6 separate regions of the Homo sapiens genome follow, and all the other regions are linked to region 1. Evidence: promoter capture Hi-C in 16 types of primary human blood cells and fetal thymus (Javierre and others, 2016). All regions are on one chromosome and are shown on one strand. The core of a region is centred on a gene start or on the middle of the fragment in contact, and the rest is flanking DNA. Distances in the headings are between cores, read along the strand shown.

Evidence for each region. The method cuts DNA at HindIII sites, captures the fragments that hold promoters and counts their contacts. A CHiCAGO score of 5 or more calls a contact.
Region 2: a contact is called between the fragment with the promoter of NR1I2 here and the fragment with the promoter of GPR156 in region 1, in 8 of 17 cell types (neutrophils, activated CD4 T cells, total CD4 T cells and 5 more). The highest score is 10.1, in neutrophils.
Region 3: a contact is called between a fragment that was not itself captured here and the fragment with the promoter of GPR156 in region 1, in 1 of 17 cell types (neutrophils). The highest score is 5.8, in neutrophils.
Region 4: a contact is called between a fragment that was not itself captured here and the fragment with the promoter of GPR156 in region 1, in 1 of 17 cell types (neutrophils). The highest score is 6.4, in neutrophils.
Region 5: a contact is called between a fragment that was not itself captured here and the fragment with the promoter of GPR156 in region 1, in 1 of 17 cell types (neutrophils). The highest score is 5.8, in neutrophils.
Region 6: a fragment that was not itself captured here is called in contact with the fragment with the promoter of GPR156 in region 1 in 1 of 17 cell types (neutrophils); the score reaches 6.0 in neutrophils.

The regions. Positions count from the first base shown.
Region 1 is chr3:120,283,193-120,287,899 of GRCh38, reverse strand. It overlaps GPR156 (G protein-coupled receptor 156), which reads left to right and starts at 2,678. Exons shown (of 10, transcript NM_153002.3): 1 at 2,678-2,871. LOC124909418 (a long non-coding RNA gene) reads right to left here and starts at 2,744. Exons shown (of 2, transcript XR_007096029.1): 1 at 763-2,744. The HindIII fragment of the contact is 9,811 bases long and covers 1,195-4,707 here.
Region 2 is chr3:119,780,246-119,784,952 of GRCh38, reverse strand. NR1I2 (nuclear receptor subfamily 1 group I member 2) reads right to left here and starts at 2,852. Exons shown (of 9, transcript NM_003889.4): 1 at 2,653-2,852. The HindIII fragment of the contact is 6,406 bases long and covers 1,652-4,707 here.
Region 3 is chr3:119,809,970-119,814,676 of GRCh38, reverse strand. It overlaps NR1I2 (nuclear receptor subfamily 1 group I member 2), which reads right to left. Exons shown (of 9, transcript NM_003889.4): 3 at 4,483-4,616; 4 at 2,951-3,138; 5 at 1,717-1,991. Among named protein-coding and RNA genes, the nearest start is that of NR1I2, 30 kb to the right of the region's middle. RefSeq lists enhancers at 4,441-4,500, 4,478-4,707. The HindIII fragment of the contact is 2,542 bases long and covers 907-3,448 here.
Region 4 is chr3:119,865,670-119,870,376 of GRCh38, reverse strand. The region is part of intron 8 of GSK3B (glycogen synthase kinase 3 beta); the gene reads left to right. Among named protein-coding and RNA genes, the nearest start is that of NR1I2, 86 kb to the right of the region's middle. The HindIII fragment of the contact is 4,059 bases long and covers 79-4,137 here.
Region 5 is chr3:119,904,617-119,909,323 of GRCh38, reverse strand. It overlaps GSK3B (glycogen synthase kinase 3 beta), which reads left to right. Exons shown (of 11, transcript NM_001146156.2): 7 at 3,472-3,569. Among named protein-coding and RNA genes, the nearest start is that of NR1I2, 120 kb to the right of the region's middle. The HindIII fragment of the contact is 9,633 bases long and covers 1-4,707 here.
Region 6 is chr3:119,956,010-119,960,716 of GRCh38, reverse strand. The region is part of intron 2 of GSK3B (glycogen synthase kinase 3 beta); the gene reads left to right. Among named protein-coding and RNA genes, the nearest start is that of MIR6529, 130 kb to the left of the region's middle. The HindIII fragment of the contact is 5,917 bases long and covers 1-4,707 here.

The DNA of each region.
Region 1 (4,707 bases), core at 1,429-3,928:
TCCTGGTCACCTCAGACACTCTACAACCCAAAGGCTGGAAGAGCTAAGTCAGCCAAACAGCAAAGATGGCAGCCCATCCCTCCCTCTAAGAGTGCCATCCCAGGGGGAATTCAGATCTCTGTCACAGCTGAAGAGCTCAGGCAGGGTGGCTGGAGGCCCTGGTTGGGAGGTCACACCCAGTGAGTAGGAATGGGATTGGGCACCCACTTAAAGCAGCAGTCTGGCCACATTTTGGTAGAGCAGCTGTGCTGTGCTGGGGCATCCTTACCGCCCCAGGTCGTCTCAGACTCTCCAAACCCTGAAGGCTGGAACAGCTAAAGCTCCTGAACAGCAAAGATGTTGGCCTACCCCTCCCCTGGGAGCTCCTACTTAGGCAGGTGCTATGTTGCTACTGGTAGCTGGGTGGAATTCCAAGCCAGTGGGTCCTGTCTTGTGTGAGGTGTTGTGGAAGTGGGCCCTGCGGGCTGTTGCTGCTCAGCCCTCTGGATTCAGCCTCTTTCTTAGGGGTATGAATGGGAGTCTAAACTCCCTCTTTGTGGGAGATGCAGCTACTTTTGCCAGAACGCCCAAGTATCTAAGCCTCCAGGGTCTCCACGCATGCCTGAGTGGCTGCTTTGCTGAGACTCCATGTAGCCCTGTCTGCCAGACTGAAGACTGAAGGCCCTGCTGCTAGTGGAGTGGATTCACAAGGAGATCTCCTGACAGGAGGGTTGCAAAGATCTGTGGGAGAAGCATGGTTTCCGGGGTCGCTCATTCACTTACCACTTCCCTGGGCAGGGGAAGATCCCCTGGTTCCCTGTTGCTCCCAGGTGGGCTGTTGTCCTGTCTTGCTTTTCCTTGTTCTCTGTGGGTCAGGTTGTTTCCTTGATTAATCCCAATGCGAGTACCCGGATGTTTCAGTTGAAGGTGTTGTATCTACTCGTCCCTTCTGTTCCTCTCCGTGAGAGCCATGTACATTACCTGCTTCTGGTCAGCCATCTTGGCCACTCCCCATCCTTATGAAAGTTTACACTGTATTACAATTGCACAGGAAAGTTACTGCAGGTTTGGGAGTGGGACAGAGGATAGAGGATGTTGGCTTGTTTTGTCAAGAGAGTGACATTCTTAAGTCTATGTTGGTGGTGGGGACAGATAGGAGGCAAGAAAATCAGTTAGGAAATTATTGAAACAATTCAGCCCCAGATAATCGAAGCTTATCAAGAGCAGCAGTGTGAGAATGCAGAGAAGTGGACAGTTGCCAGAAACATCTCAGAGGTAAACATGGCAGGCCTGGAAGATGAAAACCTTCAGTGCCTGGCAACTGAGGGGTTGGAAATACTCCAATCTCAGAAAAGAGAATACTGGGATTGGAGGTGGGGGCCAAGCTGGGAGAAAGATTTCAATGTCTTGCAGAATATAGAGAGGGGTTGATGAGAATAACAGCCGAAGAGCCCAGGGGAATTCCCAGGTTAAAAAAAAAAAGCCCCACAGAGATCAGAAGGGCAAATCCTCAATCTAGAGCCACAGAAGTGAAGATTTGGCTCTAGACTCTGAAGTCAGCTCTCCTACGGAAAAAAGATGGACCCAGGCCTTTTTAACTCAGGCAGCCCCCATGGAGGAGAGAGATGGTCCTCCTCAGTTTCTGCACGTTCCAAATGAAAGGGTCCTTCTGTGTAGAATGAGAGATCTGGAGAGTCCTGGGTAAAATCTCAGACATAATTCTTTCTTCTGAGAAACCAGCTTTTTGCTTACTGCCTTGAGGAAAACCTTGTCTATCTTTCTTTCTTCCTCTTGTTTTCCCCCTCAGTAGAATCCTGTGAAAAGAAGTCTTTGGGTATCACAATGTGTAAAACAGTTAAGAATGTAGCCACTGTCTTGTCACAGTGGGGTCTGCGGACCTGGCCTCTCTCTTCCCGTCCTCTACAACCAAAGATTTCCTCTGCGCAGTTGTAAAAATGTGGAATGTCCTAATGCACATAAATAGGTCTGAGATTTTAAAATAAATGAAACAAATATAATATGGAAAGTCTAAGTGGATTCCCAAGACCATTTCCAGGTCTCCCCTCTATGTTTCTCCTTGAGGGTGTCTTAAACACAACATCTCACACATATTTTTAAGCGGAAGACAGTGGGCTGGGTGCGAACATCTTGTTTGTGGCCTCCTGTAAGCATTCTTGGAAAAAGAAACGTACTTGTCTTTCTGATTATAAAATAAGCAAAAGCTCAACGTAAAGAATTTGGCAACTCCAGAGAGTATAAAATAAGAAAACTAATTGGTAACTCCGACGCCACTCCAGAAATAAAAATGAGCATTCGCGGAGAATCCTTCCAGTCTCCTTACCGAGGCCGGCTAGGGACCTGAATCTGAAGCTCCTCGCCCCGGGGCCAGCTCCTGCGGCAGCCGCTGGCTCGAGGCCCGGGAAGGGGCGCTGAGGGGAAGGCGCCCCCCAGGGAAGGTCTCTGAGGAGACGGCCGGAGGCGGGGCCGCCCCAGGGGACTCGGCGGCGACGCAAGGAGAAAGATCCGAGGAGCTGGAGGAGCCGTGAGGCGCGTGGAGTCTGCAAGGTCCCGGAGCCCTCCCGGCCCTCGCGGGAGAGCAGGGTCGAGGCGCGCCACGCGGGCGGCGCCAGGGAGGGGCGGGCAGGCGTGGCTCAGCCAGTGCCCCGGCCAGAGGCGCCCGGCGCCCCGCGCACACCTCAGAGGCCTGCGCCGCCGTCCCGCCGCCTCCACGCCAGGCTCCCGGCGCGGCGATGGGCGCGGGCCCCTGTCTCTGCCCCGGCCCGCCCCTTCCCGCCCCTTCCAGCCCCGCGAACGCGCGAGACGCCGGGGGACCGTGGGCGTCCTGCACATAGCAGCGGGCTTGGCGCTTCTCGGCGGTCCGACGCTGATGAGGTGAGCACAGCGACCTTAAGGATCCACAAAACTTCAAACACTTAATTATTAAGTGAAAGTGGAAAGGGGGAGGGGCTTTCTCTCCCTTTCCAGAATCTGGGCAGTTTGTTTGGAACCGGTAAAGAAACTCTCATAGGAACTTGAGGTGAGCAGGGGTCACGCATCAGGGATGCGAGTGGCAATTTCAGTGGAAGAGACGGGAGAGTACTGTAATTTGGTGTGAAGATGGGGCCGTGGGTTTTCTGCTGAATAAGCGACCGGCTGTGCTGAAAATGAGAGATCCCGAAACAGTTTCCCACCGCCTGTAGACTTTCCAGAGTCTCCTCACGCCGAATCTGCTTTGCAGGGCATGTTCACCCCCAGGGTGTAGAGTGGCGGGCACGATGGGCTCCCCCATGGAGATTGCAAAGTCCTGAAAAGGGACAATTGTATTGCACTGCGTCTGTTGAACTGCCTTGCTTCTGGGCATGAGGGAGTCACCTGGAAGCTGCAACATCCTTGTACCCTGGCAAGCAGCCCTTTCCAAGTTAGCTCTGTCAGAAACTAGAGGCCTCTAGGTAGAACTCAAGGTATCCATGTACTCGTGAAGAATACAAACCTTGAGGTTTTTAAAATCGAATTTTGTTAAGATTTCAGGATAGAAATCTGGGAAGAGAAGTCATGGCATGGCATAACTTACCCCTTTGTTAGTTTTCTAGGTACATGCATGCTTGAATTAGAGGTAAATGATGCCCTAGCCTATCATAAAATGTCTTTCCTGGTGTAGTTCTTTAAACCAGAATATGGAGGATAACATTACATTTTTGCATCCTAGATAAAAGGGAAAGATTTTCAGATGGGGCTTACACAGCGGGAGAAATTGTTGATATAGTTGTATTAGGCAGCAAGGCCTGCAAAGAAAAACTTCTTTTTCTCCACCAGTGGCTGAATTCTGCACAGAATGTCTCCTCGCAGTCTGGGTAGCAGCCCGGCTTGCAAAAACAGTGCTTCTTTCATTGCTGCAGGTGGGGCAAATGCGCTTGCGGATAAATGGCTGGGGAAGCGTTTGCTTACAGGTTAAGGCAATTTGAGTCTGGAGAATAAAGTGCTTTAGCAGGCTGTGCTTGAGTTAGGTGTCCCTTGTGAGGAATAGAGGTGGCTTTCTGGTCCCCATTTTGCCAGCCTAATTCCCCTTCAGGGACACTACTGTCTCTGGAATGTTCCCTCTGTTTCCCCTTCTCTTCCACCCCCAGCTTTTAGCTTCTCCCCATTCCCCAGTAAAGTCTAGAATTGAGCCTGGTCAGAGTCAAAGTTCTGATAGCCTAGGGATATAGAACTTCAAGCCTGGTGAAGGCAGAAATGAGACCTAGGAGAGACCCAAGATGGGTGAGATGAAACAACTTTCAGCCTAGAAGGCTCTCAAAAGAGTGGAAAAATAATGATTGAGGGAAACAGATTCTCTGGAAAGGAGAATAGGTGCTTAAGTGTTTGTTTTCAGCTGAGGGTTTTAATATTTCCATTTTTGTTGTTTAACCATAAGGGAATTTCCATTATAGGGTAGGAGGAGGATGAGGCCTTCTCTGAAAACTGCATCCTTCTCCTTGAATTTGCATTTTATTCCATTCTTATGTAGGTTTCAGAGATTAATTGGGGGAAGGGGGAGAGAGGAAAGAAGCCAGAGGCTCTGACATGCTGCAGAAACAGTGCAACGTGGACTGACTTGGGCTGCAAAGGTGGATTTGGGGGTTGAAAGAAATGTTCTACATTTAGTTGAAAAAAAAAAATCAGAGCCTTTATTTTGCAAAGGTCTTGAGAATCAGAACATTCATGTTTAGTTGCTGATGAATTTTGCCTGAT
Region 2 (4,707 bases), core at 1,603-4,102, 500 kb after region 1:
TAAGAGAATTCCATAAGGTAACTAGGCAAAATATCAAAACACAAAATAGATTTTCTATTTATTGGGGGAAAAAATCAAGTAGAAAAGGTAAACATTATAGTGGAAATTGGCTCAGGAATAGGAAATAAATACAAAAGGACACAGAAATGGACATGTGTAAGTGGGAATTTAGTACATGATAGAGGTGATATTTCAAACAAATAGGAAAAAGATGGACTTTTCAATAAATAGTATTGAAATAATGTATTGCAATAAGTGCCAGGTGAATAAAGACTAACTTTTTAAATAAAAGTATTACAGGAAGGTGCACCAAAGTAGCTTCATAATTTTGGAAGTTGAGAAATCTTTTAAAAATCAGCCTCAAAGAGTAAAATCCAGAAAGAGGGAAACTAACAGATTCAACTACATCAAAATAACAACAACAATAATAGTAAAAATTTCTGTTGGCTAAAAAGTATGATTTAAACAAAGCTTAGAGAGAATATTACACACATATCAAATAATTTGCATTGAGAATAAATAAAAAACTCCTACAAAGAAGAAAAAAAATCCGACATAAAATAAGCTAAGGATATGAATAGGTAATTTAAGAAGAGAAATACAATGGCCAAGAGGGGTCCTATAAAAAGAATGCTCAACTTCATTAATAATCAGGGAAATTAAAATATTGAAATAATGGGTTGTCATTTGCACTAATTCAATGGAAAAAATAATAAAATACTGAATAAACAGCAAGCATTGTTTGGAGTGTGGAGGAACAGTAACTATCCTTCTCTGCTGGTGGGAGTACAGTCGGTTCGGGTACTGTGGAGGGCTGTTTGGCAGCCAAAAATTGAACCACATATATCCTGTGATGTGGCAATTCAACGTCTTAGTAGTTCCTCTAGTGCAATACGTGCACATGTCTAGAAGCAGACAAACACAGTGAGGTTCATTGGTAAGACTGAAAAATTGGAAAAGCTTAAATATCTATCGAAAAGAAAACGGCTAAATAAAAGAAGTGTACACTGTGAAATATGACGTAGCAGTTAAAATAAATGAAGTAGAGCTCTATACAGATATGGAAAGTCTCCAAGTCTTGCTATTGAGTGGAAAAACAGAATTAGAACAACATGGCAACAGATAGGTTTAATAGTCCATCTATGCATAGATGAACACACACACAGACACAATGGTCTGGCAGTAAATATATCACACTAAGTACTTTTGGGGAAACTGGAGATTAGGATTGACAGAATGGCCAAAGGTGAATTTAGGTTTATCTATACTGCTTTCTCATTTTCAAGGAGCATGAAATCATGTATTACTTTATAATTTAAAAAGTTATTACCTAAAAAACCTAGTCTAGTCAGTTTTGTGGTTGTCTTGGGTTTATTCCATAATAATTTTGGAACAAGTTGACAGCTTTTAGATCAGGAGTTGGCAAACTTTTTCTGTTAAAGGCCAGATAGTTAATATTTTAGGCTTTGTGGGCCATACTGTCTCTTTCGCAATTGGTCAATTTTGCTGACTCAATGAATCAGCTATAGCAGGCACTATTCCTCTCCCACATGGCCTCTAATGATATGGCCAGAGTTGAAAGGATGTTGTAGGGCAAAAACAGCCATATACAATACATAACGAATGGGCATGGCTGTGTTCCAATAAAGCTTCATTTATAAAAACAGCTGGTGGGCCAGAGTTAGCCTGTGAGCCATAGTTTGTCAACCCCAGGTTTAGACTTTTATGACATAACTAAAATATTTTTAAAGCGTATTTGTGTACCACAAAATACTTTTTCCCATTAACCAACTGATTAAATAAGCCTCTGAGGCCTCCCTTAGCATCCTTTCAACTCTGACCATATCATTAGAGGCCATGTGGGAGAGGAATAGTGCCTGCTATAGCTGATTCATTGAGTCAAGACTCAGTGGCCTCAGAGGTGTCTGTTGACCTGTCCTAGATATGGAGTGGCCTTAAAGCAGTGCCTCTGGCCATAGCTTCAGCCGAGCTGGGCTGTAAAGTGGAGAGAAGAAGGACCTGGTGGCACTGACCACATGCAGGCAAGACTCGGTTCTGTGGGACAAGGTGCCCTTTCAATAGTAGAGGTAGAAAACTCACTGGTTTGAAGCCAACTCAGCCGCAGCACTGTGCAGGGGTATGGCAGGTGCTCTGAGGGACCCCTCCTTGAAGTGGTGAGTCCTGGTGACTGTCATGCTGCTGTCCTTGGCCTCAGGGGGCTGCCAGCACTAACCCAGCAGGCCAAAAGGAATCAGGACTGAGTTGATCCCAGTTCCCATAGTCCCCAGCTCCCACAGTCCTTGGAGGTGGTATTTCCTGGGTCCAGGGACTCCAGCCCTGTAACAGGGAGCTGGTTGTATGTGTGACTTGTGGTAACTCATGCAGTAGTTAAGGCTTCTCCTGTGGTGATTTTTCTAGGAGGCTAGTGCAGGACCAGAGAGCATCAGTAATGGGGCTCAACATTAAGTGATTGTTTTCATGCTTTTTTTTTTCCACCCTAGAAATGAGGAGACAGCAGCAAGGCCAACATGATTCACGACCCACTATGATGCTGACCTCAAACAGAAGGTATATTTGTGTTCACACACATCTTTTGGCTGGAGCTGAAGGGCGGTCAGCCCCCAGCAAAAGAGAAAGAAAGAAAAACCATACCTGCTTGGTGGTAAGTTCTTTGCTCCGACTTCTCCCCTGGGGTCCACTTTGAACAATCCGGTGCAAAGGATCGATCAAGGAGTAGCTTTACCAAGGAGCCGCTGCCTTGTTCAGGACAGGAGTATTAGCTTATTCTCTTGCTTTTCTCACTGTGAACACTTGGCTTGCAGGCTGAGGCCGAGATTCCCACTGAAGTAAAGGCAGTGCTTCCTCTTCCCGTCCTAGTCATAGGTTATGATTTCCCCGGATATGAGACAATCTTGTCTCTCACCTATATTTCAGTCCAAGTCAGATGTAGGCACTAAGCGGCTCCATTGCCCCTCCTAAGTCCCAAGTCCAGCACTTGAACTAGCAAATGAAGAGATTACCGTATTTGTTCTCATTATGTTCTCCCTACTTTTTTCTTTCAGGTCTCTTCACTACAAAAACACAGGAAAAGGGGAAGAGAGTGGCAAATATCCGCTTTGTCTAAGTAATTCTGAGTGCATTTCATCAGTCTGAGGGTCTCTGTCCTTTACCACTAGGGGCAACATTAATTTGAACCTAGATCTCCTTATACTTCCTCCTTTGTTGAAACCACCTCCCTGGATAGTGTTACTTGATGTGAAAGTGAGCAAAGTATTGATTTATGACGGTGCCAATCACCAGCATGGTTATGTAAGAGGGGGGCAGGCACACAGGGAGAGGGAAAGGGTGTGAGATGAGGGGGCTGAGCACAGTTCTCGAGAATGTGACCCCACCACTTTGATCTCAGAACAGAAGGCTGACCAGGAGTGGGGAGGATGGACCAGCTGAGGGCTCTTTCCTCTCCCGGGTCCTGCCAGAGGGGAGCTGAAGAGTCCTCACTCTTCAGCCTCAACCTTCTTATTCCCTAGCAGCAGGTGCTCCCAAGTGAACAGAATCAACAAAAGCCGAATGTGGTGGATACCAGGATGTGTTTCTTCTACTTGCTTTGTTTATAAAGATGCTTTATGGCAGGTGAGGGGAGTGGAAGTAACTGCTCCTACCTAAAAGGCAAACAAGTACAAGCCTCTGGCAACAGTAAAGCAGGGGCATGGGCCCCAACAAGAGAGGGAGAGGGAGACCACGATTGAGCAAACAGGTAGAAAAGAGAACCTGGGATTGCCAAAAAATGACCACAGTTGTCTTCAGGTGAACATTTGGACTTCCTTACATTTATTTATTGACTTAAGTTGTTATTATTTTGAAGTACATGCTTTAATCCAGCCCTGGTGAGAAAAGCCAGAATATCTAAGTATGATTTGTTTGTTTTGTTTTTAATTGGTTTCTTCTCTATCCAATTTGCACTTCCCAAGGGATGAGAAAGACTTGAGGCTGGGATTTCCTAGGGGTTGACATTTCTCAAGTGGATGCTTGCCTTGCTGTTTTCAACCAAGCGCAGAATGTAAGGTGCTTACACAGCTCACTGCTGGGGACTTACTGCCAGCAGTGGGGACTGGGACCCACAGCCATAGAGCTCTGTCCTTTTTCCAGTCACATTTCTGATTATCCACATGGGATTCTGCTAGGGCTAGGAGGTATTGGATTACAAATCCCACTGGACAGAAAGTTGACTTGGGCCTTAGGCAGGGAGGACCTAGAGTAAGTGAAATATTGAATGTCATGAGGATATTGGAAAGAAAAAGAGTAAGTGAAATACTGGATTTCAGTACCAGTGGAAGTAGCCTGAACAGTGTGCTCTGGGGTAGGAGGACAGCATGGGGCTATATCTGGGGCCTGCAGGTCCCCTGAGAAACACAGATCAGAAGGCCATGGCTAAAGCCAAAGAGGGTGGGAAAGCTGGAAAGGGTTAAGAACTCACCCCAGGAAACTTATTTCCAAGATCAAAAGTAGGCCTTTCTGCACTGACAGGTATCTCCAAGTCCAGGGAAAAAAGGCATGACTCCAGCTCAGGTAGGCCACCTTGCCAGAAGTCCTTAGGTTATGGGTAACATACGTAGCTTTCATCATCTCTCAAATCCCTTCTGGCTCACAAGGGCCTGACCTTCTCTCTCTTAAAAATATAGTGAATTATTTACAGCAGAAACAGGAAAC
Region 3 (4,707 bases), core at 928-3,427, 470 kb after region 1:
GACCTACAGCTAGTGCTTTGGCTTCTGGTCCCTGGCCTCCTCCTTTCTGCCTCAGTTTCCCCCTTGGAATGACTTCCCCTTTAGTATATCCTGCTAGCCCCTCAGGCCATGCTATGTCTTTGCCCCTCTCAGAAGTCTTTCCAGAGTGCAGTCTCCCCTTTCCAGAGTGAAAGTGCCGCCCTTTTGGCCTGAGTTCCAGTAGTGGGGATGTTTGCTTCCTGCTGTCGGTGTTGGGTTTAATGTGCACACATGTATTTCTACTGTTTCCCTGCAGCCCAGATGCCTGAAGCCCCACTCCTAGCGCTGAAGCACAGGCCTAACCATGGAGGCGGCTTAACAAGCCTCTGAGATTATGGTTACATGGATACCCTTCCGGTCCTGCAGGGATCACTCCCTCCCAACCTGGGAGGGGCCCCCACCTCCCCAGTAAGGAGGCATTCCTTACAAGGAGGAAGCTTCACAGCCTGAGAGGGAGGCTGCTTACTCTGGGTTTTGAGGAAACACTACCTCTTGGCCTTGGGAATTCAGACCCTGTGCTACTGGCGCCCATCCTTCTTTTAGATCCCTAACACTGAGCTACAAATGCCATGTAATTGATCTTATTCTTCTGTGCCTCCCCATTGCCCAGCTTAGGACCTGGCATCGAGCTGGCTTTGGTACTTCCAAATCTAGCCTCCACCACTGATTAGCTGTGACCTTGTACAAGTTTCTTATCCTTGGGGAACTTCAGTTTCTATCTGAGAATGAAGATGGCAGTGACACCTCAGGTCACTGTGCTCGACATTGGTGGCCTTGAGAAATAGCAAGTGGGAAGCCCTGGTGTTAAATTGTCAGTCACTGGATTTCACCAAAGATCTCCCAATGTCCACATTTATAAGTATTCTTCTCTCCCTGCCCCTTTAAGCTTATTTGCTACCATCTGAACCCCATTCCAAACCTGCTGTCAGCATCACCCCATTAAATAAGTCACGCATGACTCCTACAGGGCCAGAGAAGAACCTCTGGGCTCCTAGAGTATAACCTACCCTCAACCTGCTGAAGAAACCAGGAGCTTGTGGCAGGTGTGTTTCAGCCCCACTTGACCAGGCTTGGCAAGGCAAGGTGGCCTACCCAAGGACAGATACACCTGGCACCATCCCTAATCCTACGACTGCACACATATTCTGGGGCTGTGGTTCCTGCCACCCCAGGAAGTTCCCATGTCTCCCACTAACCCCAGTTGCCCGATGGTTGTTGCCTCCACATCTAGCTCTGGGGAGACCTGACCCTTGGGCTCTGAGGACCACCCGCCCTCCCCATGGCCTTCACAGCCTTATCTTTTCTATTCCTCTCATTCCTTGCTCTGGAACTGTCAACATGTGATTCCTGCCCCTTTAAGGGAGAGTACAAAAGACTATCTGAATGCCCACTCTGTGCTGGGTGTTCTTCGGATGTGTTCTTATTTCACAGAACAGCCCTGCAGGGGAGGCATTTTTAGCTTCCATTGAGCAGGTGAAGAGGCAGAGACACTGGCAGGCCCACAGCCACAAAACTAACCAGCCATACAGCAAGGGCTCTACTCCCCAGCAGCACTGGCTGCCCGGGGAAAGGGCACAGGAAAAGGAGGGTCTTCTGACACCAATATCCCCCAAATTCAGGATCTACCCCAGGCCCTTTGAACCTCCTGGCCACTTCCAGTTCTTTTCCACACCCAACCACCCAGTCTCCATGTCCTACCTGAAGTAGGAGATGACTTTGGCAAAGCTGATGATGCCTTTGAACATGTAGGTTGACATGTCAGCCATGTGGGGCAGCAGGGAGAAGATCTCTTTCCCGCCACTGTCGGCTGGGGGTTTGTAGTTCCAGACACTGCCATCCTCCCCCCGCAGCTGCAGAGAGACCTTCAAAGAGCACAGATCTTTCCGGACCTGGCTCCACTTGGCAGCTTCTTCCCTCGATGGGGCCTGCAGAGACTCTGGCAACTCGCAGCCACTGCTAAGCACCCCTGGCAGCTAGGACACATGCCAGGAGGTGGACAGAGGAGAGACAGCATGTGCTTTCATAGACAGGTCCCAACTCAGGCCCCAGCCAAACATGCACAGCCACAGTTGCAGCTCGAGAGGATGCACAAATGCAGGCATTCACACCCACATGCATGCGTGTGTCCTCACACATATACACACACAGCATTTGTTTCTTCTCTCTGGTGTTCTCTATCAGATGAAGGTGCTTTGGGGATCTATGAATTAATGGTCACACACATCCCTGCTTGGTTAAAATGGAGGGTAAGGGGGACTGCAACCATGGTGTGTCATCCCAAGCATTCCAGATGTTGGGCTCAGGAGACTCAGAAGGTTTAGGGTGCTATGGATGGGAAGAGCAGATCTGAGGTCACTGGGCTAATCCAGTTATTTGGGCTGTGAAGGGCCACTTGAGATATCTATCAGTGCAAAGGGGAAGGAGGGCACTTAGAGCACAGACATAGTTAATGTGCTGGGATCAAGAAACACCAGTTCACAAAAGTCACACCCCCAACAGGTCCTGATCCTGTCCTCATAAAGCCCCGAATGCCAGCAACACTGGGGAACTGCCTAGCTTTCCCTCCACTTATTGCTTAGACCCAGTTCCTACCTGCCTTAAAGGAGAGAGCAGTGATTTTTCAAACCTGAACCTGCAACAGAATCACCGGGGGGTCCTGCCCCTCCCTGGAGCTTCAGATTCAGGAGATCTGAGGTGACCTGAAAATCTGCATGCTGATGCTGCTGACCCAGGGACCACACTTTCAGAACCTTTGGGAATGAGACTAAGGCTTTGAGGAGCTAGCACAGATGCAGGACCAGCTCTCCAAATCTACCCTCCACCACTGATTAGCTGTGACCTTGTATAAGTTTCTTATCCTTGGGGAACCTCAGTTTCTATGTGAGAATGAAGATGGCAGTGACACCTCGGGTCACTGTGCAGTTCCTCCTACCCGGAAATTCTTGAAATGGGAGAAGGTAGTGTCAAAGGTTTTCATCTGAGCGTCCATCAGCTCCCTGATCATCATCCGCTGCTCCTCTGTCAGCCCCTGCACTCCCAGTGGCTGAGTCCCTGTCCGTTCACTTTTCTTCCGCTTGATCAAGGCCCGCCTCTCCTCCACGGCCTCGTCGGACATGATCACTGCAGGGACAGTGAGGCTGGCTCAGGCACACGTGCCCCTGGTGAGCCTCCAGCCCCCTGGAGAGCCACTGTGTAACCCTCTCAAGGCAGCAGAAGCCGTTAGGCAAAAGAGAAAGTAATGGTGACAAGCAATTCTCCCCTGTCTGGACTCAAGAGGCCTGTGGGCTCTTCTGGAGAAACACTTGGGTGAGGACAGAGATGAGGTGAGGCTGGTGTTTTGCCCTCTGCAGTGGAGTTTGTGAGGACACTGTGGGGCCCTGGCAAGAGCACGGGCTTCAGAATCCAAAGGCGCTGGGTTTGCATGAAAGCTTTGCCACTTACTACCTGTGACCCCAAGCAACCTCCTTAACCTCTCCTGCCTCCAGGTTTCTCCTTTGTGATCCGGAGAAACCGTGTTTACCTCGCACCGCTGTTAAATGAGACCTTGCATGTAGGGTGCCTAATATAGTTCCTGGTACATAAGAGATGTTCAGTAAATGGCATCTACAATTATCATTTTCTGGTGAATTATATACCAAGACTCTTCAGAGGTGTCTGGGTCTCCAAGACCCTAGAGAGCTGGGCTACAGCTTAGCAAGAAATAGCAACTCCAGAGACTTCTTATATAGCCCAGAGCCTTAGGGTCTTCTGTGGATTTCTGGAGCCCACTCATGTGTGTAGAACAAAGCTATGAGGTCCTTGGTGGGGAGAGATCAAGAATGCCTGCCAGCAGCCTAGAGAACTTGTCCTTGAAAGAAGCAGCTTTGGGTCCCTTTGTGTTCCATGGAGACAAATATGCACTAGAAACACCTAGCCTTTTCCGCATGAGCCTTAATCTCATAGTGACCTAGGAGCACAAATATATCAAAGTTAAATAGGTAGAATGAGAACACCTCATGTCACCTGTCTGCAAACAGTTCCCCTATAAAGATCCAGGTCTGGGGCAGCTGATGGGGCTAGCACCTAGAAGGCCCCGGGTCCTATCACCCATGTGGCTCCTGCTTCCCTCCCCCAGATTCACACTCCTACCCGCAAATGTGGTTTCAAACCATTACAACAATTATGAAGGGGACAAAAAGAATGATGCAGGAGCAACTGAGGGGAGACAGAGGGCACGCCCTGTCCAGGGCTGCCCAGCACACATCCCAGGGCAGAGATTACCGACTCCCTCCATCTCCCAGAGGGCCGACTGCAAGCGCTCCCCCAGGTGGCTGCCTGTTGCACACGGACACCAGCTCACATGTGCACGTGTGTTCACGCGCACACTCGGCGCGCATCTCCACACAAGCATGCCCACACCCACGGCACGTCCTTACTCAGAGCCGTGCACCCCGGCGCCGGCCCGCCCGCGCGCCCACTGCTCACTCTCCTTCTTCATGCCGCTCTCCAGGCACTTGCGCAGGCGGCAGGCCTGGCACTGTCGCCGGGTCTTCCGGGTGATCTCGCAGGCGCCCTTCCGGAAGGGGCACCTCAGCCGGGCGTTGCGTTTCATGGCCCTCCTGTGAGAGAATGGGGAGCAGAAGGGGGGATGCACGGGTGCCCGGGCCCTCGGCCTGGGGCTCCGGGCCATACCACCTCCCTCCCCAGCCC
Region 4 (4,707 bases), core at 859-3,358, 420 kb after region 1:
TGTGCTGGGTACCATAAAGCATGCAAAAGAAGTAAAATATATAGTCTTTGTCCTTGAAAAGCTGACAGTTGAAAAGCTTAGTTGAAGCAAGTATTGAATAATGTGAGATACTATGTAACCGTATACTTAATTCTGTGCTGTAAGTGTTCAGAGGTGTTCCACATGGCTGTAGGTGTTACAAGGCAGACTTCCAGTGAGGATGGTGGAGGGAAAAAGGAACCCCCACTTAGGGATAATACATGAGGTGGGATGTTGAAGGGGAGGTTTAAGATTTGCCTAGGTGTAGAAAAGGTTAGGAATTGTTATAGCCTGGGTGAATATCTCTCAAGGTGGAGAGAGCTGAATGAAAAGAAAATATTTCTATATTCATAGGAGAGCCAACCTGACTGTAATAATTGTTTTGTGAACAATGAAAGATTAAATTGGATAAGCGGACATTTGGCAAATCCCACTCCTGTGTAGGCATGTAGTACTATTTCATCAGCACATGATGTGAGGGAGAGAAATTATGTTACATAGTTAAATGCTGATATCTACATATATACAGCCAGTCATTTAACATCGTTAGTAGGTGCTTAGAAACTGCAACTTTAAGTGAAGTTATGCACAATAGGTCCTCAAATAATGTTGGTTCATTCAGCGTTGATGAGGGAAAACATTTGGTTTTATTATACGTTTCACTAAAAGTCACAGTTTTCAAGAACCTATCAATGACATTAAATGAAGATTTACTGTATAACTTTTCTTACCTATAGTAGAACTTGGGAAAACTCGATAAGGCTTTTAATTAGTACAGCTGAAATTCACTGGATGTTAGATTTGTCATGGCTAAGGAAAGGATTCTTTGTGTTTCTTATGCTCAACCTTCTTTACCTGAACTGGTATCTTAACGAAAAGGCTTAGAAAATTATGCAGTAGACTTGAGCTGAATTCAGTTTGTGTATCCTACCCTGTTAGATGCCAACTTCATAGATAGCAATTTTACTTGGGAGGAGGACTCTGAAAGTTGTTTTCAGTAGCCTCTGGTAATCATTTTTGATAGTACTTAAAGTGAATTGGATTACCTTGTATGTCAGTGCATCATTAGATCAATGTAGCAAAGCATGTGAAAGACTGCCAAAGAATATATGTTTTTTTTTTTTTTTTTTTTTTTGAGATGGAATCTTGATCTGTTGCCCAGGCTGGAGTGCAGTGGCACGACCTCGGCTCACTGCAGCCTCCACCTCCCGGGTTCAAGCAATTCTCCTGCCTCAGCCTCCCGAGTAGCTGGGATTACAGGCACCCACCACTACACCTGGCTAATTTTTGTATTTTTAGTAAAGATAGGGAGAATATTTTAAAAAATAGTATAGACTAATTTGTTAAGTAATTATTGAATTATGTGCTACATATGAGCACTTAAGTAGACTTGATTTCTTTCTTAGTTAACATAATTACCTATTCAACAATCCATGGCATTGTCTCACTTTTAATCCTATGTTTAGGTTTACAAATTGCATATAATTTCAGATGATTAATAGATTACTTGAGAGTCAATATTGGAGTTGCTCTTTAGGAGTATTCATGGTTTATTAGTTTTTAAAACTGGATGCTTATATTTTGTATATGACCAGGATATAGGATGAGTGTTGTACATTTATAGTAATAAAAACTAATGAGGAATAGCTATTTGGAACAGACATGGCTCTTGTTCTGTGTTCTGTTAGATTAATTATCACTGCCAACAGCCATTTAAAATGGACATTTTTACATTGCTCTGATTGGCTACATAATACAATAGAGTTGCTAAGAGCTGATGCTGTGAGATCCATGTTAACCATAGGTCTTAGTATGGTGTATGTGATTGTTTAAAAATGGCCTTTTTAAAGTGCTTGAGATTCAGTCACAACACTTAGCTCCAGGTTGAAATTTGAAGGACAAAGTCTATTCTAGGACATGTAGGGCAGAAATTGCCTCTGTCATTTTTTAGTTACCCAAATGCAAATTTATTTTGAATAATTCTTCATTTAAGGACTTCTTTGCATTTGTTCAATACTGCAGAAACTTTCTTTTTGAAAAAATGATTTTTTTCTGTTAGTTTCTTCTATGGGCTAGTATTTGTGATGGGAGTTGATATTTGTTTCAATTTAAGAAAATGAGTTGCTGCATAGGTGAGGTAGTATTTGAATCACTTTAAAAGTTCATGTCAGTGTTTTGGTTCTTTTCAGTATTTCCTTTCTCTTTTCTTTCTTTTTTCCTTCCTCTTTTTCTTTTCTTTCTTCTTCTTCTTATTTTTTGCTTTGTTTTATTTTGTTCTGTTTTATTTATTTACTTTTGGTTTTGTTTTTAAAGGGGTGTTTTGGGATCTCTGTGGCCTTGCTGCATACTTCGCTGGCCATATTTAGTCTGCGTACTAATTGTTAGTTGGCCCAGTTGAGTCTTATTTTGTGCTCTCAGTTCTTTCAGTCTGGTTTTCTATTTTTGTCCACCTGGTTGTGTTTTAGTTCATGAGAGAATTTATTCTGATGGGCCAGATTTTAATCTGTGTACTAAATTTTAGTCTGCAGACTAAAAGTAATCCGCGGATTATTTATTTTTGAAAAATATTTAATTCCCCCACTGGAAACTATCCTAAAAGAATGTTAAATTCTCTTAGAATAGCCAGGGGAGTTCACAGATACTGGTGAGTTCTGCCATTTTTTGTTCTCAATACCTAGACATAATAGACCCTGCTACCTCCCTTGCATATTTGGCTCCGTTGTGCCTAGGTGTTGGTATACATTACTATGCCTGTCACCTGTAACTGTGACTGTCCCTTAGTTGTATTGTTAATTTTATATATTTTGTTTAGCTTTTGGTGGGTGAATTGGGCATATTTGCAGATGGAACTGTGTTTAATTTGTAGTGCTGGAAGATGTAGGATTTATTTTTTCAGAGAGTTTTTCCAAAGAGGAAAAAATGTTCTCTATTTATTTTTCCTAAGTACCGGGTGCAAGGGTATGAGCGGGCAAAGCCCACAATAGAAAAAGTAAGTTAATACCCGCACTCCTGAGGTGATATGTCAATTTCCTGATGAGTCCTAAGATAATGAGAATGTCAGCAAAGAAACATCTTTTAGCAGAGAAGTCAATCCAAAATGGAGAATAATCCGCGGTGGCCTGATCCTTCTTAGCTCACACAAATTGAAAGTATCTGGCTTGAAATCTATAGTAATATAACTTAAATATATTTATTACTTTCCTCTCATCACTAATAACTTAGCAAAAAAATGTTTATACTGTGTAACTGGAACACATTAATAGAGAAAAAAGTAGCATATTGGGAACTTGAAACTTTAAAAGCAGGCTAATATGCCCCCTCCCAGCCATGTCTGTGGATGATGAATCCAGGTCATAGAAGACCATTTTACTTTGGGAACTTTACTTCTAGATTTCATTTTGATTTTAACTTTTTTTGGTTTTGTATTTTTTTAATAAACGCACTGGCATTGGAACATAATAAACTAAAATTAAAATGTTTCTTTACTGTGCCTCACCATTGCACAATCAAAAAAAATTTTTTTGCATACACTGTGGTGAAATAATTTTTAAAACTTGGACTTGCTACTGTGAAGACTGATGTTTAAAGTTTATAACTGTATAAACATTTTCTATGTCCCCCCCCACACCATGGATTTCTTATAACATTGGATATATTTTTCCTTGCTGGACTATTCTCTTTTGGATTGACTTCCCCTGTTTGGATTATTTCACTGCATTATCATCTTTAGGATTCGTCAGGAACAGGACATTTCACCTCAGGAGTGCGGGTATGTACTTAATTTTTTTTTCCCAAAATTTCAGGGCAGGTCTATAAAACTTGGGGGAAATCTTCTTTGAGAGGCTAAATAATTACTCATTCTTGAAATGTAATAGTAAACAATGTAAGTAGCTGTGATTTCTGTTTTTATTCACTGTATGGCATAGGTTTCACTTATAGTATATTTAGATTGTCAGCCTCTTGGGTGATTCATTGACATCTAGGCTGAAGTTTAGGAATTGTGGGGTTTTAAAATTATTATTTCTATTACAAGAATAAATATTGATGAAGATCCATGAAACCAAAGGTCTGAGTGTTAAGCAATTTCAGTGAGTAAGGAAAGAAGTGACAGCGGAAGCTTCTTTAATTAAAAGACAAATTTCAGTTCTTGGTGGTTTCCTTTTCTTTAGAAGCAAAAATAATTCAGATGAGCTAGTTTCTAGTTTGCCCTATAATTTTTAGAAGTTACATGCTAACTCACCCTGTATTATGGTCAGAAATCTGAACTGTGGGAGATACTGGGTTTTGACCCCACGTAATTTTCCACTTAACCTTTATTCACAGAGTACTGAACCTAGGCTTTTCTCATCAAGAATCTCTCAAGGGTTTAAAATGACAGTGTATAGTTTTTGTAAAGGCAGGTTAAATCTTGATTTTAATGTAGGCTTTTGACATGTATTATTTTCTTCATTGTTTTTAACTCTTGAACTTTATGAGTTAGGATTCCCTGACAAATATACGCTAATAAATGTCTTAGTACCGATATGGATGATCACTTGTAGGCAGTAAAACACCAAAAGATATGGGTGACTTAAAAAATTACTGGAAATAGGCCGGGCACGGTGGCTCACGCCTGTAATCCCAGCACTTTGGGAGGCCGAGGCGGGCGGATCATGAGGTCAGGAGATGGAGACCATCCTGGCTAACACG
Region 5 (4,707 bases), core at 1,396-3,895, 380 kb after region 1:
AAAAAACAGACCTGGCCTGGTGCAGTGGCTCACACCTGTAATCCCAGCACTTTGGGAGGCTGAGGTGGGCAGATCACTTGAACTCAGGAGTTCGAGACCAGCCTGGGCAACATGGTGAAAACCTGTCACTACCAAAAATTAGCCGGGCGTGGTGACATGCCCCTGTAGTCCCCGCTACTTGGGAGGATGAGGTGGGAGGATGGCTTGAGGCCAGGAGGCAGAGGTTGCAGTGAGCTGAGACTCCACCACTGCACTCCAGCTCGGTGACAGAATGAGACCCCCCCTCTCAAAACAACAACAGCAACAACAAAAAATAGAACAGACCTTGTGACAGTTTTTTTGTCTTTTTGATATAAATAGAAATTCTCTGATACAAGCAAACACCCTAATCAGAAACACATTATCATTTTTTATTTTGCCAAATGGCAAAATGCCAAAGCACATTTTGATTTCTGCCAAGAGGCCAGCAGTTTTACCCACCATTTCCTTTGTACCCTCAGTACAAATGTTAACCCAGTGAAGGTGTATTCTTATGAAAAGAGTTTTGCCCTCTGGGACATCTAGAAATGTCTAGAGGACCCAGGTGCAAAGAGTACAAAGTGTCCTCTGTAGACCACACTTTGACATCTGCTTTACCAGAGGGTAGAGAGCATAATAATGTGTATATGTATGTGTATGTAATTCTCAGAGTCTTAGTATGGCTGTGGTACATGGCATATATGAATGGACAGATGAAAAATAGTACAAAGAATATTTTGCTTGTGGTCGACCTGGGTTTGAGTGTCAGGTCACTTGAAGTAAAGTGGAGATTACTGACAGTTCTTTTCTGAGTGGCTGTGAGGCTTAAATAAAATGTTAGTGAAAATACTGTAGAAATGAAAGGTGGTATTCTTTTGTGGCATTTTTAGACTTGACTCTCCCCAAGAGCAAATTTCAGCCCCTTGTCTTTGGGTATGTCATTGGATTTTCCAGCTGCTTTACATTTTATTCAAATATATGATACTGATTATCTGTATATAAGATACTGGTGTGAGCTGTGCCAGAAACACCTAAAATAAAGGCAGTTTGATTGTTCTCAAAAAGTTAACACATCATCTCACACATTAAGGAACAGTTATATAAACAGGAGTCTTTTGAACCCTAGCAAGCCTAGGTTTGGCTTCCCATTATAAACTTAGGATACTTGCCTCTTAAGACTGTAATGTTTTTAAACAGACCCTCCCAAAAAGTATACTAATATTGTTACATTTTTAAATGTTTTTAACAGTAATGTTTGAAATGAAAGAGTAACTGTTTCTGACAAGATTATTGTCATATTTAGATACAGCCAGAGGTAAAGCTGATGTCTCTGATTATATTATCTTACTGACAAATGGCAGAATGAGAACAAAAGGCTTCCTTAGAACAAGGAATTGAACTTACAGACAGACCCTTGAAGAAGCTGTTATTCTGTGACAGTGAGACAGTTATTCAAGAGAGTGGTGTTTTGATTGGGAATTGAGAATGATTCCAGGCCTAGCTCTACTATTCAGTACCTTTACCTTGGGCAAGTCGTTTAACTTTATCATGTCTTAATTTCCTTATCTATGAAATAAGTGTGTTAAACTAGATGGTCTTGAAAGATCACTTTAACATGAACCCGAGTTAAATATGAAACAAAATGCTATTCTGGCTTTAACCCCAACTAACTAAAATTCAGTGTGCCAAAGCACTATTTCTATTTTTCCGGTACCTTCTATTTAGTTGAAGTTTTATTCTATCTGGAGAATTTCATCCATTTGTCCTTTGAAGTAAGAGCAGAAGAGATTTTAGTGTCCTCCAGAAAGTGATTGATAAGTACCTTGTTTTTACTAACTTGACTGATGTAACATGAATTGAGGGCTGCTAGTATAGTTGTCACCTGAATCTTTTGAGTGTCAGTCTTCTGTGATAACTTCTAGGCAAGAGTATTCCTTGATGTTTTACTTTTTGTCTTCCATATTTGTAGCTAAATCTTACCTAAGAAAGTGTTTCCTATTGTTTTTTATGAAGGCATAATTATTCCCTTACAATTTTTTCAGCCTTGTATCTGAGATGAATCATTCCGTATTAGAGAGGAAAAAAGTTGAGTGCATATTACCTTCCATCTTATTAACTAGGTAAAGGGATGTTTTAAAACTTAGATTAAAATAAGCATTTACATAAATAAGGAGATACATCTTTTCCGCTTGACTATAACAGTTAGTATTACTATTGGCTTTGAGTAAAGATTCCCTAACAAGTTTTCATATGTGCTTAATTTAGCAATTTCCTAATATATTAAATAGGACTCTTGGTCTATATTTGCAGAATAGATGTCTTGGTTATTAAGTTAGGACTGGACAAAATCAACTCGAGTTTGTTAAATGATACTATGTCATTTTTCTAGGTCAATAAAAAGTAGTCACTGGAGCAACGATTTCCAGTCTCTCTTGATAGTACATCTCACCACATCAGACCTTTAAAATTTTTTGTTGTCAACCATTTACTGTTCCTTCTTCTCCTTCCGTACTGGTAGGTGGTAAAGTCCAGCAATGATTCATATTCGTCTCCCTAAAGCACTTGAGTGTTGGTACATTAAAAACCTAGGAATCTCAGAAATCTGGAAGCTAAAAAGCAGCCTTTTCTTGTAGGAAGTCTTAATAGCGGGCTTTAAAATAGAGTGACCGTACGGTTTATCTTCTAATCCGATAATACTTTTGAGAGAGAAAGAGGTGTTACTAATAATTATCCCAGGACAACATATAAACCATAACTATCCTGGGTAAACCAGGATGTATACTTTAAAGTATTTTTAAAGTGTATTAATTGAGTTAATTTTTAGAGTTTTCTCTCCGGATTGAGGTTTTCATTTTGACTTAAAAGTGGATTATTTTTATAATTTATGAAGTAAAATGTATTCCTCCATCATTGCTATTCCATTTTATTTAAAAATGATATATTTAAGCACATTTTTCTGTCAGTCATCGTAGAACATAAAAATCAACCATTTAAAGTCTTAAAAGTGTTCCTCAGAATTTGCACTGACTTAAAGCCCAGTGTCTGGGAGAGATTGAACCTTTCCTTGCTGCTCCTCTGTAAGTACCTACTAATATGCAGACGTTGTGTCACTTTGACTTATTTTTAAGTAAGATAAATAGATAGTCCTGCCATAGCTTTGGTACTGTAATCCTCTGTCTAGTTATTTGAAGACTTGAATACCTGAAATTTGATAATAATAGACTTTACCCTTTATTAGAATATTCTTATTGGTCTGGTTTCCTCTTTGGTAAGTTTAACATTTAATTAAAAAGTACATTAAGGAAGTTTGATGACTTTTTCTCTGTTTTGGATTGTATAATCTTTTCCTGTGATATTTACTCTGTGATCAAAGTAAAATTAGAAAACGTATACAAACACTTTTCAGCTCAAGCTATGAAGTATTAATAAGGCTTCGTTTTCTTTTCTCTTTAGATGTATGGTCTGCTGGCTGTGTGTTGGCTGAGCTGTTACTAGGACAACCAATATTTCCAGGGGATAGTGGTGTGGATCAGTTGGTAGAAATAATCAAGGTGAGAAGGTTGAATCAGAATATTTGAACTGGAAGGAATTTTTGTGCTACTTTAATAATATATATCACACATGTACACATACGAGAAACTTAAAAAATGGAGGAAGCAATCCAAGGTCACGTAGCAAGTTCAGCTATAAAGTGGGTATAAGAACGCCCCCCCAGCCTTTTGGTTTTTATTTGAGTTACTCTTCTCTTGTATGATCCTAGAAAAGCTATTATGTATATCTGATGCAAGAAAGGTATATATCTGTTATTTAAAGTACTTAAAAGCAAAATTAGACTATAAGCTCACTAAAATGTATGTAAGCTGAATAAAAGCAGAAGCTGTGTCTGCTTTTGCTCACTGTATACTCCCTGCTCCTAATACTCTGTGGAGCACATAGGAGATACTTGTATTTGGTCACTATTTATATTTATTCAGTATTTATAAAATGAAAGAATGAATGCCTACCTGTCTGGCTAGATCATTGATAGAAACAAAATTTTGACTTATGGATTTAATATAATTTTATTTATTGGGTCTATATGAATTTAATATAATTTTATTTATTTTAAATTTTATTTAAAGCTGAATAAAGATATGTCTGGTTTTGCTCAGACACAGCTTCTGCTTTCATTCAGCTTTGCATACATACACCTTTATTAACAAATATTTAAATATTATCTTAGAATATATGTTTTCTTTTAAGAACAGTAGAGCTGAGATTTTAATTGAGTTTTTAAATGTAATTTTTTTAAGTTTTAAATATTTGAGATCTTAAAGGAAGTCCCTTTACTTAAAAAAAAAAAAAAAACCTAGTGTCTAGATTTATATCACTAGATTGTTTCATTCTAAGGTTTCAGTTTGGACAAAGCAACAACACCTACTGTCTCTGGGGCTTTGTTTGTGATATCCCAAATTTTGCATAGAATTGTAAAATTGAAAAATCTCCTTAGAGGTCATGTTGTCCAATGTACAATAAAATAACCTTTTAGTTACATTCCTAACAAATGGTTTTCTAGTATTTTCTTGAACACTTCCAGCATCAGATTACTACTTAGGGATGCAGCTTATTCTGTATTGGACAGCTTGAATTTAGTTTTTATTGTACTGAGCTGTAACTCCTCAGTAGCTTCTACCAGTTGAACATAGGACT
Region 6 (4,707 bases), core at 1,587-4,086, 330 kb after region 1:
AATGTTGAGGTTGCAATTTTAAATAGTGTGAGAAAGTATGTAGCATTTGAGGAAATACCTGAAGTATGTGAGGGGGGCTGATATTCAGATATTTATGCAGTTGTAAAGCAAAGTAGAGAAATCCCACATGGGTAAAACTCTTTACCCACTTTCCCTCAATGATTACATCTTGCAAAATTATAGTACATTATCACAATTAGGATATTGGCATTGATAGAATCCACTGATTTTATTCAAATTTCCTCAGATTCTCTTGTACTACTTTGGAGAGCTGTATGTGTATATATTTCTTTCTATTTTTTTTTTATTACATGCATAGGTTTGTGTATAGACCATGATAGTAAAGATACAGAACATCACAAGTATCCTCTTACTGCCCTTTTATAACCACATTGACTTCTCTCCCTGCCATTACTCCACCCCTAACACCCAGTGTAACCCCTGGCAGTAACCACTAATCTGTTTACCATTTCCAAACTTTTTTTCTTTCAAGAAGGTTATAAAAATGGAATCATATCCAGTATGTAACCTTTTGGGCTAGCTTTTTTTTTTTTTTTTTTTTTTTGTCTCAGCATAGGTTTCTGGGGATGCAACCATGTTGTTGCATGGATCAATAATTGTTTCTTTTTTATTGCTGAGTAGTATTCCATGGTATGGATATACTACAGTTTGTTTATTCACCCAGTGAGTGACATCTGGGGGCTATTCTAAATAAAGCTGCTTTGAACATTCATATGCCGGTTTTAATGTGAACGTAAATTTCTATTTCTATAAAACATATGCCCAAGAGTGCAATTGCTGGGATCCTGGGTAAGTTTTGAAGGTTGAGCCAACAGGATTTCTTGACAGATTAATGTGAGGTCAAGCCGGGCGCAGTGTCTCATGCCTGTAATCCTAGCACTTTGGGAACAATAATTGTTATTGCTAATAATAGCACTTAGGGAGGCTGAGGTTGGAGGATCATTTGAGGTCACGAGTTCAAGACCAGCCTGGCCAACATGGTGAAACCCCATCTCTACTAAAAATACAAAAAAATTAGCTGGGCATGGTGGTACACGCGTGTAATCCCAGCTACTCAGGAGGCTGAGGCAGGAGAATCACTTGAACCTGGGAGACAGAGGTTGCAGTGAGCTGAGATCATGCCACTGCACTCCAGCCTGGGCGACAGAGTGAGGCTCTGTCTTTAAAAAAAAAAAAAAAAAAAAAAAAAGTCAGAGAGAAAGAGGAATCAAGACTTCATGGTTTTTGACCTGGGCAACTAGAGGAGTGGAATTGCCAACAGCTGACATGGGGAAAGCTATGGGTAGAGCATGTTTAAAGGAGATGAAAAATTTTACTTATAACATGTCAAGTTGATGTATATTAGACACAGAAAAATTGTCACATAAGCAGTTGGTTAAAAGATTTTGGAATTCACAGGGGTGGTCTGGTCTAGAGATATACAATTGGGAGTCTGATCAGCCTTTAAAGCCCTGAGACTGGAAGAGGTGATAGAGGCAGCTGAAAGAGGTGAGAGACTAAGTTCTGGCTACTTCAGTGTTTAAAAAATAGGGAGATTATGAAGAACTAGCAAAGAAAACTGCAAATTTGGCCAATGAGGAAGGATTAAAAAGCAAGATAATTTAGTGTCCTGGAAAGTAATTGGAGAAAACATTTCAAGGAGAGAGGGAGTCAACCAATCATTTTTGTGTAAACCTTAGTTGTAGCACAAAGGCATATTCTGCACAGTAACCAGAGGTTTTAGTTGTGTTGTATTCCAGGGGATATATAGGCTGATGCCCCCGTTTCTAGTTTCTCCTGAGTAAGGAGAATTTTCGAGTTTTAGTTTCTGTATTCAGAAAGCAAATGGTCTAAGAGACAAGTTGAATTCTACCTGTTAAGCTCCAACTTAACACTCTTTTCATGAAAAAAGTGAACACTCTTTTCATGAAAAAAGTGAACACTCTTTTCATTAAAAATCTTTTTAATCTTCCTAGTTGGAAGTATTCTTTCTGTTTTTAGAATTCTCCATCCTTTTTTTTTCTTCCAGGGTCGAGGGAGAGACAGGGTCTCACCCTGTTACCCAGGCTGAAGTGCAATGTCACAATCATAGCGCACTGTAGCCTTGACCTCCCTGGTTAAAGTGATCCTCCCACCTCAGTCTCCCGAGTAGCTAGGAACACAGGTGTGCATCACCATGCCCAGCTAATTTATTTTTATTTTTTGTAGAGATGCAATCTCCCTGTGTTGTCAGGCTGGTCTTGAACTCCTGGGCCCAAGTGATCCTCCTTCCTTAGCCTCCCAAAGTGCTGGGATTACAGGCATGAGCTGCCACACCCACCCACCCACCCACCCCTTTTTCGATAACTCTAGTGGCACTTAACATTTTCTGTTGTATGGCATCTGTGTTAGTCCATTCTCACACTGCTGTAAGGATACTCCTTGAGACGGGGTAATTTATAAAGGAAAGATGTTTAATTGGTTCACAGTTCCACATGGCTGGGGAGGCCTTAGGAAATTTACAGTCATGGCGAAAGGGAAAGAAAGCAGGCACCTTCTTCACAAGGTGGTGGGAGAGAGAGTCATCGTGCAGGAGAAACTAACATTTATAAAACCATCAAATCTTGTGAGAATTCACTCACTATTAGGAGAGCAGCATGGGGGAAACCATCTCTCCCAGTCACTTCCCTCCCTTGACACTTGGGGGGGTATAGGTCCTCGCCTCAGCACGTGGGGATTACAGTTCGAGATGAGATTTGGGTGGGGACGTGGAGCCAAACCGTATCAGTATCTTTATTTGCCTACTTGTATACTTGTCTTATTTTGAATTATAAGCTCTTTCAATACTGAAGTCCTCCTTTATTGTCATTGTATTTTCAAGCACATAGTAATAAATGGAATTGAGTTACATTTCATTGTGATAGAGCATGGAATCTGACACACCTGGTTTAAATCTTGCCTGTGCTGTTTGCTACCAAATTTCTTAACCTCTCTATGCCTACACCCGCTCTTAAGTGGGGATCATAATGTTGCTTACTTGATAGGTTTGTGGAGAGGATTGAAGTTGTGAAGATACAGCTCTTAACAGAGTGGTCAGCTCATAGTAAATTCTTTGTGTTCTGTAGTTGTTGGTGCCATCATTGCTATTGTTAATAATAATATGCTGTTGTGTTATTGGCTCTCAAAGATACAGGGTTAAAGGAATACACACTTAAGCTGGCATTGACTTACATGCTAGGGCTTCCGAAAACTAAGTATTCAAGAACCTGGTTTATATCTACTTTAGTAGTCATATTACCTGTCAGGATATAAAAGTCCGTTATTCCCTTAGTTCATGCAGGCATCCTTTGTGTTGTTTCTCTTCCATTTCCCTTTCTGTGCTGGGCAAGTAGTCTGTGTAACTGATTGGGAAAAGTAGCATACATGAGTCCTTTTTATTGTTTCTATAAAATTGGGGTTTTGTTACAGAACATGTTAAGCCTACCTAGGCAGTATGTTATTTTATAACTATAATTTAAAATTTTAACTTACACACTAATTATAGTTATGTAAAAGGAAAATATCATAAATTTCCAGAACATTAGTCCCTAAATCAATATAGAAAGTCCACTATGTATATGTACTAAGTACAAAATTGAGATTGACGGTAAGGAACTTTCCTTTCTTGCCTTGTGGTGCAGGGATTGGGAAACAGTGAACCAGCCACCTGTGTTTGTAAATAAAATTTATAACAAACAGCCACGTTAATTCTTACACATATTGTTGTAAACAGACAGCCACATTCATTCTTATAAATATTGTCTGACTGCTTTTCCCCTACAACTACAGAGTTGAATAAACCTGAAGAATTTAGTGTCTGGTCCTTTATAGAAAATGTTTATTTGCCCCTGTTCAAGGGTATTATTTTTGTGGCTCATCTCTTAGAGCTTTTCTCACTCTGTCTCTTGTATTGATTCCTTTTCTTCTGTCTGCTTAAATGATGATATTCTCCAGAATCTTTTCTTGAATAGCTCACCTTTCCTAAGGCTTACGTTACTCCACTGTCTAGGTTCTACTTTCTGACTAATTTCTTTTTAGTGTCCTTTATAGACTTTCTGCTGCTGGGGAGTTTGATCACTTTTTTTCTTATTTTATAGGTTGAGCATCTTGAAACCAAAAATCCAAAATTTGAAATGCTCTGAAATTTAAAACTTTTTGAGCACCAACACGATGTTTAAAGGGAGTGCTCATTGGAGCATTTTGAATTTTGGATTTTCAGATTAGGAAGGCTTAATGGGTAAAGATAATACTAAATCCAAAAAAAGTCTGAAGTCTGAAACACTTTTGGTCCCAAGCATTTCGGATAATGTGTATTCAACCTGTATAGGCAATAATATATACTCTCCTATGGCTTCTGAACCACCCACACCTCCTTGAGGATAAGAAGAACATACGGTATTGCTTTCTGGACCTTTTCATCTGCTTCAGTGTCCCTGAGTCGTTTCAAAATGAATGTGTCCCAAATTGAACTCACTTCTTTCTGCTTCCAAAACAGCTTCCCCGGCCACTGAACTGTACCGTGTTCATAGTCATGTGAGTGAGAAGCCTGATAGCTGTCACCTCCCTCCTTCTATTTACTAATTCAATAGCAGTAGGTGATCACTACTATTGTAGACCCATTTTCTTCCATTTGTTTTTCTCTGTTTTTACTAGTGTAGATCCTAGTTTTATCCGCCGCCACCTTTGTAA